2 separate regions of the Homo sapiens genome follow, and region 1 is linked to region 2. Evidence: promoter capture Hi-C in human tissues and cell types (Jung and others, 2019). All regions are on one chromosome and are shown on one strand. The core of a region is centred on a gene start or on the middle of the fragment in contact, and the rest is flanking DNA. Distances in the headings are between cores, read along the strand shown. Region 1 holds the start of DNAI2 (dynein axonemal intermediate chain 2). Region 2 overlaps DNAI2 (dynein axonemal intermediate chain 2).

Region 1 (7,510 bases), core at 1,957-4,456, 36 kb after region 2:
TGCAGAAAGTGGCATTTTCTTTCTTTTTTTCTTTTTTCTTTTTTTTTTTTTTTTTGAGATGGATTCTCGCTCTGTCGTCCAGGCTGGAGTGCAGTGGCAAGATCTAGGCTCATTGCAAACTCCGTCTCCCGGGTGCAAGCGATTCTCCTGCCTCAGCCTCCCGTAGCTGGGATTACAGGCACATGCCACCATTCGCGGCTAATTTTTGTATTTTTAGTAGAGACAGGGTTTCAGCATGTTGGCCAGGCTGTTCTTGAACTCCTGATCTCAAGTGATCCGCCCACCTCGGCCTCCCAAAGTGCTGGGATTACAGGCATGAGCCACCGCACCCAGCCTTGTTTTCTTCTCTTTCTTGTAGTTTGGAAATTCTCTTTCCTGGGTGGGAGCAATGGCTTAGAGGGCACAGGGTGGGATGAGAAGCCCAGATTGTAGCGGGGTGCCCCAGTGTGTTTTTACCACATGGACAAAGCTACGGCCTTGTGAAAAAGCATGCAAATCCCGTGGCATCCTCCCCTTTGCCAACACAGTGTGAAGCAACTGTGCCTCCCACATGGGGCTGCAGGACTCAGGCAATTAGGGCTGCCTGTCTCTGACTTTTAAAAGAAATTGCTGCAAGCCAGCTGGCTCCTAGGGGACACAAGGAGATTGAAGAGAATGAGGAAACTCCAGGAAGACAGAAATAGCCTCTTTAGCCCAGATCAGATTTTTAACAGCTTTGCTTTCCTTCTTGGTGTTTCCCAAGGCCAAGCCCCGAGTGAGAACAGAGGCATTGTCTTGTGTCTGGAGGCAGACAGAGGGGACATTTAAAGACTGGCCTGGTGACGGGAAGACAACCCATTCAAGGACCCAGAGCAAGCTCTTCTCACAAGCTAGCAGGGCACACAGATGAATAGCAAGGTCAGCAAAGGGCGTCTCAGGAGGTCTCCCCCAACCTCTTGTGAGACTAGTGCTAGAGGGTGGGCTTCCCCAAGCAAGGCCTGAGCAGGAGTGTCTGCATGGGGTGACAGAGCGGGGACGGGAGCAGTGTCACTGCCCTCTGGAGTTTTGGGGGGAGATCCTCCCCCCGTGGGAACCTAGAGTCCCAGAGGCGTGAAGAACACCACTGTGAGTCTCAAACACAGGAACACGCAGAATCAGGGACGCTGTGGTCCAGACATCAAAGATTCAGGCGTCTCCCGCATCCCCGGGGAGGCAGTCAGATGGGAACCTTCACTCACTATAAAAACAAAACTCGTCTTGTGCAGTGAGAATGAGCAAAGTAATTCCTGGAGAGAACCTCCGGTGGCTTAAGGGAAAGTGTGTTTTCCAAGCTGGGAGGAAGGCCAAGGGAGTGATGGGGAGGAGGAGTGTCAGCGTGGGAGACTGGGAAGGAGGCAAGCTGGAAGGTCAGCCCTCCACATTGAACTCCCTAGTGGAATAAGGAGATGAGAACATTTTCCTCTTCTTCTTGGTCCCTGGTACAGCCCCTACTGGGTTCCTGCGAGTGGTGGGCCCTGCATGGCACCTGGCAGGAGAGGACTTCCTTCCCTCTTTCTTTGTTGTTGTTGCTTTTGGGACAGTGTTGCTCTGTCACCCAGGCTGGAGTGCAGTGGTGTGATATTGGCTCACTCCAACCTCTGCCTCCCAAGTTCAAGCGATTCTTGTGCCTCAGTCTCCTGAGTAGCTGAGACTACTGGTGCATGCCACCACACTCGGCTAATTTTTTTTTTTTTTGAGACGGAGTCTCAGTCTGTCACCTAGGCTGGAGTGCAGTGGCCTGATCTCAGCTCACTGCAACCTCCACCTCCCAGGTTTAAGCAATTCTTCTGCCTCCACCTGCCGAGTAGCTGGGACTACAGGCGTGAGCCACTGCACCCGGCCAGAATTTTTGTATTTTTAGTAAAGATGGGGTTTCACCATGTTGGGCAGGCTGGTCTCAAACTCCTGACCTCAAGTGATCCATCCTCCTGGGCCTCTCAAAGCACTGGGATTACAGGTGTGAAAACCGCACCCAGCTTTCTTTCTCTTTCTTATGTCCTTGTGCACCTTCTGGAATTCCGGGGTCCTGAGGGACTCACTCTACCCTCAAAAGAGGCAGACCTCCCTAGAAAGCCCCCATTTATTTTCCCCCAGGATAGCACTAAGCATGGCTGAGCCCCCCAAGGAAAGTGAAGGTTGAGGGCAGGACGAGTTGGGAAGAGGTCCCCAGAATTGGAGACCGATGGGGGTCAGTGACTACCTGCCCTCACAACTACCTTGTGGTCTCCTTGACGGAAAGACTGTGGTCTTTTATTCACTCCCGTCCCCAGGGACTGGCACATAGAAGGGGCCCAAGACTCCTGTCACCTGCTGCGTTAGTGACTGTGATACCAGCGCCTACCAGGCTTCTCTCTACAGCTCTCTCCCCTGTTCCTCCTCTGCTGACCGTGACAAACAAGCAAAGGATTTGAAACCAAGGATTCGAGAGGAAAACACATAGGGTCTGAAAGCTGGGAGAAGACGCACTTCTGTGGTTCAAGAGAATGTGGTAAACCTTGACCTTGAGCAGGAAGGAGGAACTGCACACGCTCCGGAGGAACTCACCAACTGTATGACCTCGATCACACGAGAACGCCAGCTCCCAGGTTGAGGAAGAAATGAAAGAAAGCACTTAAAACACCTGCCACCTAGCAGGTGTGCAATACTGTTAATTTACATCCCTCTATCCTGAGCAGAAAGCTCTCCTCTTAAAGGGCCCATCTTCCCATCACCCTAGCCGGAGGCTGTTTTTCTTCTTTTTTTTCCATCCATTCAGCTGTAAATCCTTCAGAGGTCTCCAGTCCACTCCAGGACAAGGACTGTATCAGGACCTGAGTGGGTAGGAGGGTATGAGGCAGGGTGTACAGAGGCTGCAGGGTCCTGCGACTTGGGGCGGATCCAGGGCAGCGAGGACTAAGGGGAAGAGGGCACTAGGAGCGCTAGTCCTGGCAGCCACCATCTGGCAGAGCTATCCCAGAAGGAAGCCCCCCAAGAGGAATGTTTGGCACTCTTGGTGGTTATTACCCTGTAAGTCTCTCCCTGTCACTCTCCACTCTAGTCTTTAGCCTCCGACGTCCTCCTGGCGCCCGCCCCTTACCCTGGGTCCGCTCCTTCTGCTTCTGGGTCTCTGGGGAAGCGTTCAATCCACGGTCGCGGCTCCGGTGCTCCTCAAACGGCGGCGTTTACCGGTTGCTTGGCAACCCCGGCCTGGCTCCGGACGCGCGGGGCGACGCGGAAGGACCCCGGAGCACGTGACTCCTTTCCTGCCACGTCGGAAGCGCAGGCCATCCCTCTTCTTTTTGGAGGTCTCCTGAGTTAGGAGAAGAATTAACCAATAGGTTGGTAACATACTAATAATGATCATGAATATTTGTAGGGGCGTTGCCAAGGCGCTTATCCAAGCCTACGTTTGTATGCATTTGCATCGAGCAAGGCACCCAGAAAATGCAAGGAAGAATAGTCAGTGCTTGGGAAGCCCTGATCCCTGGGTGGTGATGGCGGGCTCTGCTTACCATCTTGGCCGACTGTGTTGTCCTGCCTTCCTTCAGTTTCCGCATCCATTCAGTGGGAATTATAACTCTGCCCTCCCCTCTGCTACCATCCTTCCTCCACTTTCTGTAATAAAGACATCTTCCCGCACCACCAGAATGGAAACTCCTTGGGAGTAGAAGCTGGGGAATTTTTTTTTTTTTGAGACGGAGTCTCGCTCTGTCGCCCAGGCTAGAGTGCAGTGGCGCGATCTCGGCTCACTGCAAGCTCCGCCTCCCGAGTTCACACCATTCTCCTGCCTCAGCCTCCCGAGTAGCTGGGACTACAGGTGCCCGCCACTACGCCCGGCTAATTTTTTGTATTTTTAGTAGAGACGGGGTTTCTCCGTGTTAGCCAGGATGGTCTCGATCTCCTGACCTTGTGATCCGCCTGCCTCGGCCTCCCAAAGTGCTGGGATTACAGGCGTGAGCCACCGCGCCCGGCAAAGCTGGGGATTTTTACAGCTTAGCTGGGTGATTGGCACGAAATGTACTGTGTTCATTGAATGAATGGTTGAATGAATGAAACGAGTCATGTTTCTCAGGGAGTTAAGGCAATTGCGATCATGTAAATTAAAACAAGGGAATTTGGGGCTAGAAAAAAATGAATTTGAATCCCAGATTGGCTACCTACTAATCTCATGGCCCTGGGCAAGTTCCTTTCCTTTTCTAAGACTCAGCTATCCTCATCTGCAAAGTGGCAGGACAGTGGCGGTGCTTATTAGATAATGGGGAGGATTAAGTGAGAGACAACACAGGGGCGTGTCCAGCCCCCGTCCAGAGCTACTGGTGCCTGAATGAGTGGCAGCTCGGGGAATGAGGTTATCCCGAGTTCAGATGCTGACATCGGAAATTTGGACTGGGACAGAAGAGGAGTGCGTCATCCAAGAAGTGGGATTGGGGTTGGAACTGGGCCTTGAAAAATGGTTATGAGTTGCAGGGAAGAGGAGTGGGGAGGGCGTTCCAGATTGGGGGAGGGCATGGCGTGAGCAAGGAAGGAAGGGGCAGTCGTCATGGAAGAAAGGCATTTTGCGAGGATGGTGGGTGGATCAGTCTGGCTGGGGTTGAGAGTCCCTGCAGGGGAAAAATGAGAGAGGAATTTGCAAAGGTCAGCCAGGGCCAGTCTGTGGGGGGTCCCAAGAGAGGCAGGCTGAGGGGCCCAGACAGCTTTCCATGGGAAGCCCTCAGCGGGTTTGGGATCTGTGAAAGGACAGGAAGGAAGCAAACGTTTCTCTCCCACTTCCCAACTTCTCCATATATGTGTTGTCACCACTACCCACCTGCCTTTAGTGGGGCAGGTGCAAGGAAATTCCCAATGAGACGGCACCTTGCAGGGCCGCACTAACCAAAGACAAGCACCTAAATGACTGCTGCCACCAATCTCTCCTGATCCGTTCTGGCTCGCACCAGTTTCTCGGGACAAAGAACTCTTAGGGGTGGGTGCTGAGGGTCCTGACAGGGGCTGGGTGGAGGAGCTCCTGAAAGACGCATTGAAATGGCTTTGTGTGGTCAGAGGTGAATCAGACCCAAAGTCTCCAAGAATAGGAAACGATCCACTCCATGATGAGGTAGTGGCTGGCTGGGGTTGCAATCATAATGCAACCCTTTCCACTCCACCTCCAGCCCTGGGAAGCCGAGGGCTCTCTGAAGACACATTATTTTGTGGGTGGGAAAGTGGGTTAGAAGGGGAAATAGGAAAAGTTGAAAGGAAACTGCAGCCACCTTTACCATATTATCCAACAATTTAGTACAGGCTCCCCACCCCCACCCTCACCCAGAAGGCTGCAGGCCACCGACCACAGAGGGCAGCTCTGTTCACTGGCCAAACAGTTACCCCTTGGCCGGCTGCCTCGGCGTGAGGTCATATAATTAGAAGTATTCACAAGGACCTAGTTTGAAAACAATTGCGGTGCCTCTCAGATCTTCACCCAATCACAGCATAATTGGCAGCAGAAATTCTTTGCTGAGAGCCGCCCCTGGCCCTGGACATCCCCAGGCATTGCCACAACCCGTTCCACTGCTGTGTCCCCCTTTAGTCCCAATTTTTGTGTGCGTGGTGAACTACACATAAAATTTACCATCTTAACCATTTTTCAGTGTATAGTTCAGTGGTATTAAGTTCATTCACATTGTTTTTTGGTCTCGCTCTGTCGCCCAGGCTGGGGTACAGTGGTGTAATCATGGCTCACTGCAGCCTCAACCTCCAGGGCTCAAGCGAGCCCCCCTCCTCAGCCTCCCAAGTAGCTGGGAACACAGGTGCACATACCCATGCTCGGCTAATTTTTTTCATTTTTTGTAGCCACAGGTAAGAGGCAGGACTTGATTCTGGAGGCAGGGCTCAGACACCAGACCAGACTGAGGGCTAGCTAAAATAGGGAAGAGGCGGAAGCAGCTCTCCATAAGACACGCCCACCAGTGTGCCATGTCAATTTACCATTGCCATGGCAACACCTGGAAGTTATCCACCCCTTCCATGGCAATGACCCAATGACCTGAATGTTACCACCCTTTTTCTAGAAATGTCTGCATGATCCACCTCTTAATTTGCATGTAATTAAAAATGGGCATAAATATGACTGCAAAACTGCTTCTGAGCTGCTAGTCTCTGCACACTGCCTACAGGTAGCCCTGCTCTGCAGGAGCAGTCATGAGCTGTAGCACTGCCACCTCAATCAAGCAGTTTTCCTCTGCCACTGGCTCACCCTTGAATTCTTTCCTGGGCAAAGCCAAGAACCCTCCCGGGCTAAGCCTCAATTTGGGCCTTACCTGCCCTGTGTCATCCCTATGTTGCCCAAGCTGGTCTCCAACTCCTAGGCTCAAGCGATCCTCCTGCCTTGGCCTCCCAAAGTGCTGGGATTACAGGTGTGAGCCACTGCACCCAGCCTATGTTTTACCGTTCTTTTTTTTTTGAGACAGGGTCTCCCTCTGTCACCCAGGCTAGAGTGCAGTGGTGCAATCTCACCTCACTGCAACTTCCGCCCCACCCCAGCTCAAGTAATCCTTCTACCTCAGCCCCCCGAGTAGCTGGGACCACAAGTGTGCACCATCACACCTGGCTATTTTTTTTGTACTTTTTGTACAGACAGGGTCTTACCATGTTGCTCAGGCTGGTCTCAAACTCCTGAGCTCAAGCGACTCACCCACCTTGGCCTCCCAAAGTGCTGGTATTACAGATATGAGCCACCACACCCAGCCTTGTGCTACCTTCTCGAAGGCAGAGTATCTAGATAAATTATTTGGAATCCTGCATGAGAGATTCGTTAGTCACTTTTTTAGACTTAACTTTGCTTGGCTCATAATGTGCAATACAATAACATTTGGTAGGAACCATCTGCTCTTCCCGCCAATGTTGAAAACAAGCTGCACGTGGTTTGCAGGAGTGAGATGCAGGCAGCACGTTCTGCCGGCTCGCTGCTGCGGCACCCCCTTACCAAAGCGTCTGCCTGCCTCGCCAGCTTCCTTCCAGGACTGTGAGTGCCTAGAAAGTGGAAACCTCATTCTATTCATCTTCATAGTCACAGTGCTTGTGGGAGGGCCTGGTTTGTAAAAGCTTCCCAGGATGGAATTCATCACATCAATGGCAAGCCCACCAAGCCCTCATGTTGCTAGCGGTTAAGTAACACTAGTTGCACTTTTGCTAATGCAGACCAGATCTCTCTCTGCCATTCTGCCACCCCAGGGCAAGGCTACCTTGCATTCTTTTTGTTGTTGTTGTTTTGAGACGGAGTTTTGCTCTTTCGCCCAGGCTGGAGTGCAGTGGCATGAACTCGGCTCACTGCAACCTCCGCCTCCCTGGTTCAAGTGATTCTCCTGCCTCAGCCTCCCAAGTAGCTGGGATTACAGGCACGCGCCACCATGCCCGGCTAATTTTTGTATTTTTTAGTAGAGACGGGGTTTCGCCATGTTGGCCAGGCTGGTCTCGAACTCCTGACCTCAGGTGATCCACCTGCCTCGGCCTCCCAACGTGCTGGGATTACAGGCGTGAG
Region 2 (5,861 bases), core at 37-2,536:
GGACACTGAGTTACTCAATGCCAAGGAGCATGGAGTTCCAGAACCACAGGCAGAAGAGCGCCCTTTGGAGCTATGAAATATGGCGGCTTTGGCCCAACAAGGACCAGCTCAATGGTGAGATCCCAGTCTCAGGCAGAGCCAGGAGGCTCTCCAGGCCTCAGCACTAGGGGTTTTCCTTTTTTGTTTTGTTTTGTTTTTGAGACAGAGTTTCACTCTTGTTGCCCAGGCTGGAATGCAATGGCACGATCTCGGCTCACCACAACCTCTGCTTCCCACGTTCAAGCAATTCTCCTGCCTCAGCCTCTCAAGGAGCTGGGATTACAGGCATGTGACGCCATGCCTGGCTAATTTTCTATTTTTAGTAGAGACGAGGTTTCTTCATGTTGGTCAGGCTGGTCTCGAACTCCCGACCTCAGGTGATCTGCCCGCCTCGGCCTCCCAAAGTGCTGGGATTACAGGCGTGAGCCACCACACCCGGCCCTAGCACTAGGGGTTTTCAGTTCCACAGTGTTCCCCATGGTTCTGGGGGGTTGCCTGCAGGGCTGTCCACTGGGGAAAGGATGTAGGAATGGATCTCAGTCCCCCTCTTCAAGTCCCCTTCTATCTGGCTTCCCTATTAGCATTCTACTAAGTCTTCAGGCTGGGCGTGGTGGCTCATGCCTATAATCCCAGCAGTTTGGGAGGCTGAGGTGGAAGGATTGCTTGAGCCCTGGAGTTTCAGACCAGCCTGGGCAACATAAGGAGACCCTGTCTCTACAAAAATTAAAAAATGAGCCAGGCATGGTGGTGCATGCCTGTGGTCCCAGCAACTCAGGAGGCTGAGGTGGGAGGACCGATTCAGCCTGGGAGGTAGAGGCTGCAGTGGGCCATGATTGTGCCACTGCACTCCAGCCTGGGCAACAAAGCAAGACCCTGTCTCAAAATGAAGTAAAATAAAATAAACTGATAAAATAAAAATAAATAAAATAATTAGGCTGGGCACGGTGGCTCACGCCTATAATCCCAGCACTTTCGGAGGCCAGGGTGGGCAGATCATCTTAAGGTCAAGAGTTCAAGACCAGCCTGGCCAGTATGGTGAGATCCTGTCTCTATTAAAAATACAAAAATTAGCTGGGCGTGGTGGTATGCACTTGTAATCCCAGGTACTCAGGAGGCTGAGGCAGGAGAATCACTTGAACCTGGGAAGCAGAGATTGCAGTGAGCCTAGATCTCACCATTGCACTCCAGCCTGGGCAACAGAGCGTGACTTTGTCTCAAAAATAAATAAATAAATAAAAATAATTAAATTAAAATACAATATAATATAATACAATACTAAGCCTTCATTGGAAAGTTTCCACAAAAAAAAAAAAGTGTTATTTGAAACTAGACAAACTGACCAAGTCGAACCTCTTTGATTTACAGGTAAAAAACTGAATCCTGGAGAGTGACGTGACTTACTGAAGGCCACTTAGCTACCCAGCAGTTGAGCAAAGGCAAATGGACACACCAACACCTATTTATGGAGCCCACACTGCTTCCCCCAAAATGTGCACCTATGTTCTGGGGGTGGGAGGGCGGGGCCATCTATTTGTCTGACTAGCCTGCTCTGCTGTGGGGCCAGGTCGGGACGTGCTGGAGGGATTTTCCCCAGGCACCCGGTGCTTACGGAAGAGGCTACGTTCTTCTCATTCCTCTGGAGGGTAGAGAGCCCAGGCGAGACCTCCAGCAGGGTGGTTGTCCCCAGCTGGGAGCCGCAGGCGATGAGACACCCATTGTCCTGCACCCGGAGGCAGAAGAGGGCCTCGTCACACACCTATTGAAGGGGCCGGGCAGACCCAGGTAGAGGAGAGAGGAGCAAAGTTATGTGTGTCTGATTAACTGGCCCCTGGGGAGGCTCAGCCACTTGGCCCTATTCAAACATCCTCAGGACGCCTCTGCCCACAGGATGAAGTTCAAACTCGGAGACTGGTTGTCAAGGCTCCTGGCTTCCCTGCCTCATCTCCCGCCCCACCCCTTCAGTTCCGCCTCACAGTCACCCTGTGGTTCCCCAATGCCCCCACCCTTCCGTGGCCCCAGCCAGTGGGGCTCAGCTCTGGCCACCCTGACATGAAGGGGAAGGTCCAGCAGCCAAACCCCAGGGGCTCTGAAGGAATCGGCCTGTGGGTAGGAGATGCCGGGTACCTGCTTTTGTTTCTTTTTAAATTTCCCCCAGGTGGTTCTGTTGTGCTACCAGGATGCCAAATCCCCCAGGCCCCTTAACCTTTGTAGGAGCACACGCTCAAAAGCAATCGCTGCAGTCAGCCTGCACACGGCTCCCCCACAGAGGCCCAAACACACCTGGCCACACACTGCACACGTGCTCACAGCACCCCACACTCACACCCACGCCGGGACCTGGCTCCCTGAGGACCTGGATGCACAAGGAGGGACATGCGCGTGACCTTCAAGCTGAGGGTGGGATCGCACTGCTCGAACATGAAGTCCCAGATATCCAGGGTTCCGTCCATCCTGGTGGTAAAGAAAACGGTCGGCCTCACGGGGCTCCAGGCAGCATCAGTGAGGTAAGCCATGTGGTACCTGTGGGAGGTAGACCACATCATGGTTGGAGGGACAGAGGCTTCTGAGCCACAGCTTGGCTCACTTGGTCCCTTCTGGGCTCCAGGATCTCAGAGTCTTGCTAGGTAGGAAGTTCTTCCTTGTGTCTGACTTCTAGCTGTGCTGACCTCACTCATCCACAGCTCACAGGTTGCTTTTTTTTTTTTTTTTTTTGAGACACTCTTGCTCTGTTGCCCAGGCTGGAGTGCAGTGGTACGATGTCGGCTCACTGCAATCTCTGCCTCCTGGGTTCAAGCAATTCTCCTGTCTCAGCCTCCCGAGTAACTGGGATTACTGGCGCCCGTCACCACACCCAGCTAATATTTTATTTTTGCTAGAGATGGGGTTTCACCATGTTGGCCAGGCTGCTCTCAAACTCTTGACCTCAGGTGTCTGACAGGCTGTTCTTTAAAGGGCTCTGGGCTGGTCATGTGCCTGTAATCCCAGCACTTTGGGAGGCCAAGGCAGGAAGATCGCTTGAAGCCAGGATTTTGAGACCAGCCTGGACAACATGGAAAGACCCTGTTTCTACAAAAAATAAAAAAATTAGCCGGGTGTGGTGGTGAGCACCTGTGGTCCCAGCTCCTCGGGAGGCTGAGATGGGAGGATCGCTTGAGCCCAGGAGGTCGAGGCTGCAGTGAGCCATGTTTGTGCCACTGTACTCCAGCCTGGGCAACGTAGTGAGACCCTGTCTCAAATAAAATAAAGAAAGGGCTCTGGGCACAGTCCTTCCCGTGGGCTGGCCACTGGCATTTCTCTGCTGCTAACTCCAGGCAGCAGGCACGTGTTGCTGGACCTGGTCCCAGCCCTGGGACTCACGGATGGGAGTCAGAGGAAGGACATGCCCAGAAAAGCTGCTACCGCTGAGATAAGGAGAGTGTCACTTCCTACTTGGTTTCATCTGGGTTTTCAAGAGTTTCTTCAGTGAAGACGGAACATTTTTTTAAAAGGGACACACACACAGTGCAGCCTTCAGATTTTCACCCAGACCTCCTCTCCCTTCCTCCATTGCAATATAGTTGTAGCTGGGCCCCTGGTGAGCAAGGCAGACTACACTTCCCAGTCACCTTTGCAAACCTAGTGTGTTGACAGCCAGACCACAGTGGGAGAAATGATCAAGACTAAAGAAAGGATCTGGGCCGGGCGCGGTGGCTCATGCCTGTCATCCCAGGACTTTGGGAGGCCGAGAATGGTGGATCACCTGAGGTCAGGAGTTTGAGATCAGCCTGGCCAACATGGCAGAACCCTGCCTCTACTAAAAATAAAAAAATTATCCAGGGGTGTTGGTGGGCGCCTGTAATCCCAGCTACTCAGGAGGCTGAGGCAGAAGAATTGCTTGAACCCAGGAGGTGAAGGTTGTAGTGAGCCAAGATCGTGCCACTGCACTCCAGCCTGGGCAACAAAGAGACTTCATCCCCCCAAAAAAAGAAACATCTGGAGATTTTTGGACAATGAATAATTTTTAGTATAAGTATATACCAAATATTGCATGGGACATACTTATACTAAAAAAAAAATAGTTTTTTTTTTTAAAATTCAGATTTAACTAAGTGCCAAATATTATTTTTTTTTGAGACGGAGTCTCACTCTGTCGCCCAGGCTGGAGTGCAGTGGCGCAATCTCGGCTGGTCTTGAACTCCTGATCTCAGGTGATCCACCCGCCTCGGCCTCCCAAAGTGCTGGGATTACAGGCGTTAGCCACCAAGCCCAGCTGATTTTTTGTATTTTTATTAGAGATGGGGATTCACCATATTGGCCAGGCTCGTCTTGAACTCCTGACCTCAAGTGATCCTCCCGCCTCAGCCTCCCAAAGTGCTGGGATTACAGGCATTAGCCCACTGCACCTGGCCCAGGGTCAAATATTCTTATTTGCTAAATTTGTTTAACCTTATGCAGGAGGAGGACAAGGGAGACCCAGGTTCTACGACACAGGTCCACCAAGTCCCTCTAGGAACCAGCCCTGCGAAAGGCCTATGGGTGCTGTGCTCGACACCCTGCTCCTTTCACACAGCCCTGGCAGCCTGCAGGACCTGAAGACATTGGGAAGGCTCCTAAAGCCTGTAAAGGGCTTCACATCTACTGGGAACCCCCTACTTGCTATGAGGCCTGGAACAATGCACTGCCCTTGTCAGCCAGCGTTCCCACCCCTGTAGAATGAGGACATCGAACCAGGTTTCTGCTCCCAAAGCAAGGACTGGCTGAGTCACAAGCCTGGGGTTGCTCCTTAGCAAACCCATTCCTGGGCTAAGCCCAAGATTCTATGTTAGTACCCCCAGGGTTGGGGCTGAGAATCTGGATTTTAAAAAAATCACTCCTCCACCAGGCACGGTGGCTCATGCCTGTAATCCCAGCCCTTCGGGAGGCTGAGGCAGGCGAATCACCTGAGGTCAGGAGTTTGAGACCAGCCTGGCCAACATGGGGAAACTCTGTCTATACTAAAAATACAAAAATTAGCTGGGTGTGCTGGCGTGCGCCTGTAATCCCAGCTACTCAGGAGGATAAGGCAGGAGAATCGCATGAACTCGGGAGGTGGAGGTTGCAGTGAGCCGAGATCTCGCCATTGCACTTCAGCCTGGGTGACAGAGTAAGACTCCATCTCAAAAGCATTTTAACAAACAAACAAAAACTCCTCCCAAGATATTCTGATGCAACCAGATTTGGGAAGCACTGGAACCAAAGATGCTCATTAGGGTTGCTGGTGGCTTTGACGTTGCAGGAGTCTGTGGTTCTGTGGGCAGGAAAGGAACCCCAGGATGTTTTTTTTAGCAAGAGAAAAAAGTAATTATTTATACATGCAATGCACAATACACATGGCAGTGCTCGGTGGTGAATGACTCAAGGGGGTGGTTAGAATTCGGGCTTATTACCTAATTTAGGAGATGAAGGGGAGGAGGAGAAAGGGCACTTTTAGACAAGGTAAATGGGCCCTAAGAAGAATGGAGGGGGATGTGATAGTCTAAGCTTCTCTGGTCTAACCATTGTGCTCATAGCTCTGTCTCAAGCTCCCTGTCTGTTGCTCTCCTCAGAGGAGTGGCACTGAGCAAGACAGGCTATGCCTCACTGCTGAATTGTGCCAAGGCACCCGCATTTCCCAGCCAAGCTTCCTTGGTTCACACCCAATCTCGGCTCCTCACTAGCTGGGAGAGCAGGAGCAAGTGGCTTGGCCTTTCTGTAGCCCAGTTCCCTAACATGAAAAATGAGATGAAGAGAAGAGCAATGCTGCCTCCTCCTGGGGATAGTTTGAGGATTATGAAAATTAAGCCAGCCAGACGCGGTGGCTCACA

The links. The method cuts DNA at HindIII sites, captures the fragments that hold promoters and counts their contacts. A contact is called where the count stands out against the background at its distance.
Region 1: the fragment with the promoter of DNAI2 here is called in contact with a fragment that was not itself captured in region 2 in 2 of the 25 tissues and cell types used here (liver and pancreas).

Annotation. Positions count from the first base shown.
Region 1 is chr17:74,269,930-74,277,439 of GRCh38, reverse strand. DNAI2 (dynein axonemal intermediate chain 2) reads right to left here and starts at 3,206. Exons shown (of 14, transcript NM_023036.6): 1 at 3,095-3,206. The HindIII fragment of the contact is 25,570 bases long and covers 1-7,510 here.
Region 2 is chr17:74,305,951-74,311,811 of GRCh38, reverse strand. DNAI2 (dynein axonemal intermediate chain 2) reads right to left here. Exons shown (of 14, transcript NM_023036.6): 10 at 2,424-2,559; 11 at 1,649-1,795. LOC105371891 (a long non-coding RNA gene) reads left to right here. Exons shown (of 4, transcript XR_934971.3): 3 at 1-114; 4 at 1,405-1,555. Among named protein-coding and RNA genes, the nearest start is that of KIF19, 17 kb to the left of the region's middle. The HindIII fragment of the contact is 9,299 bases long and covers 1-5,861 here.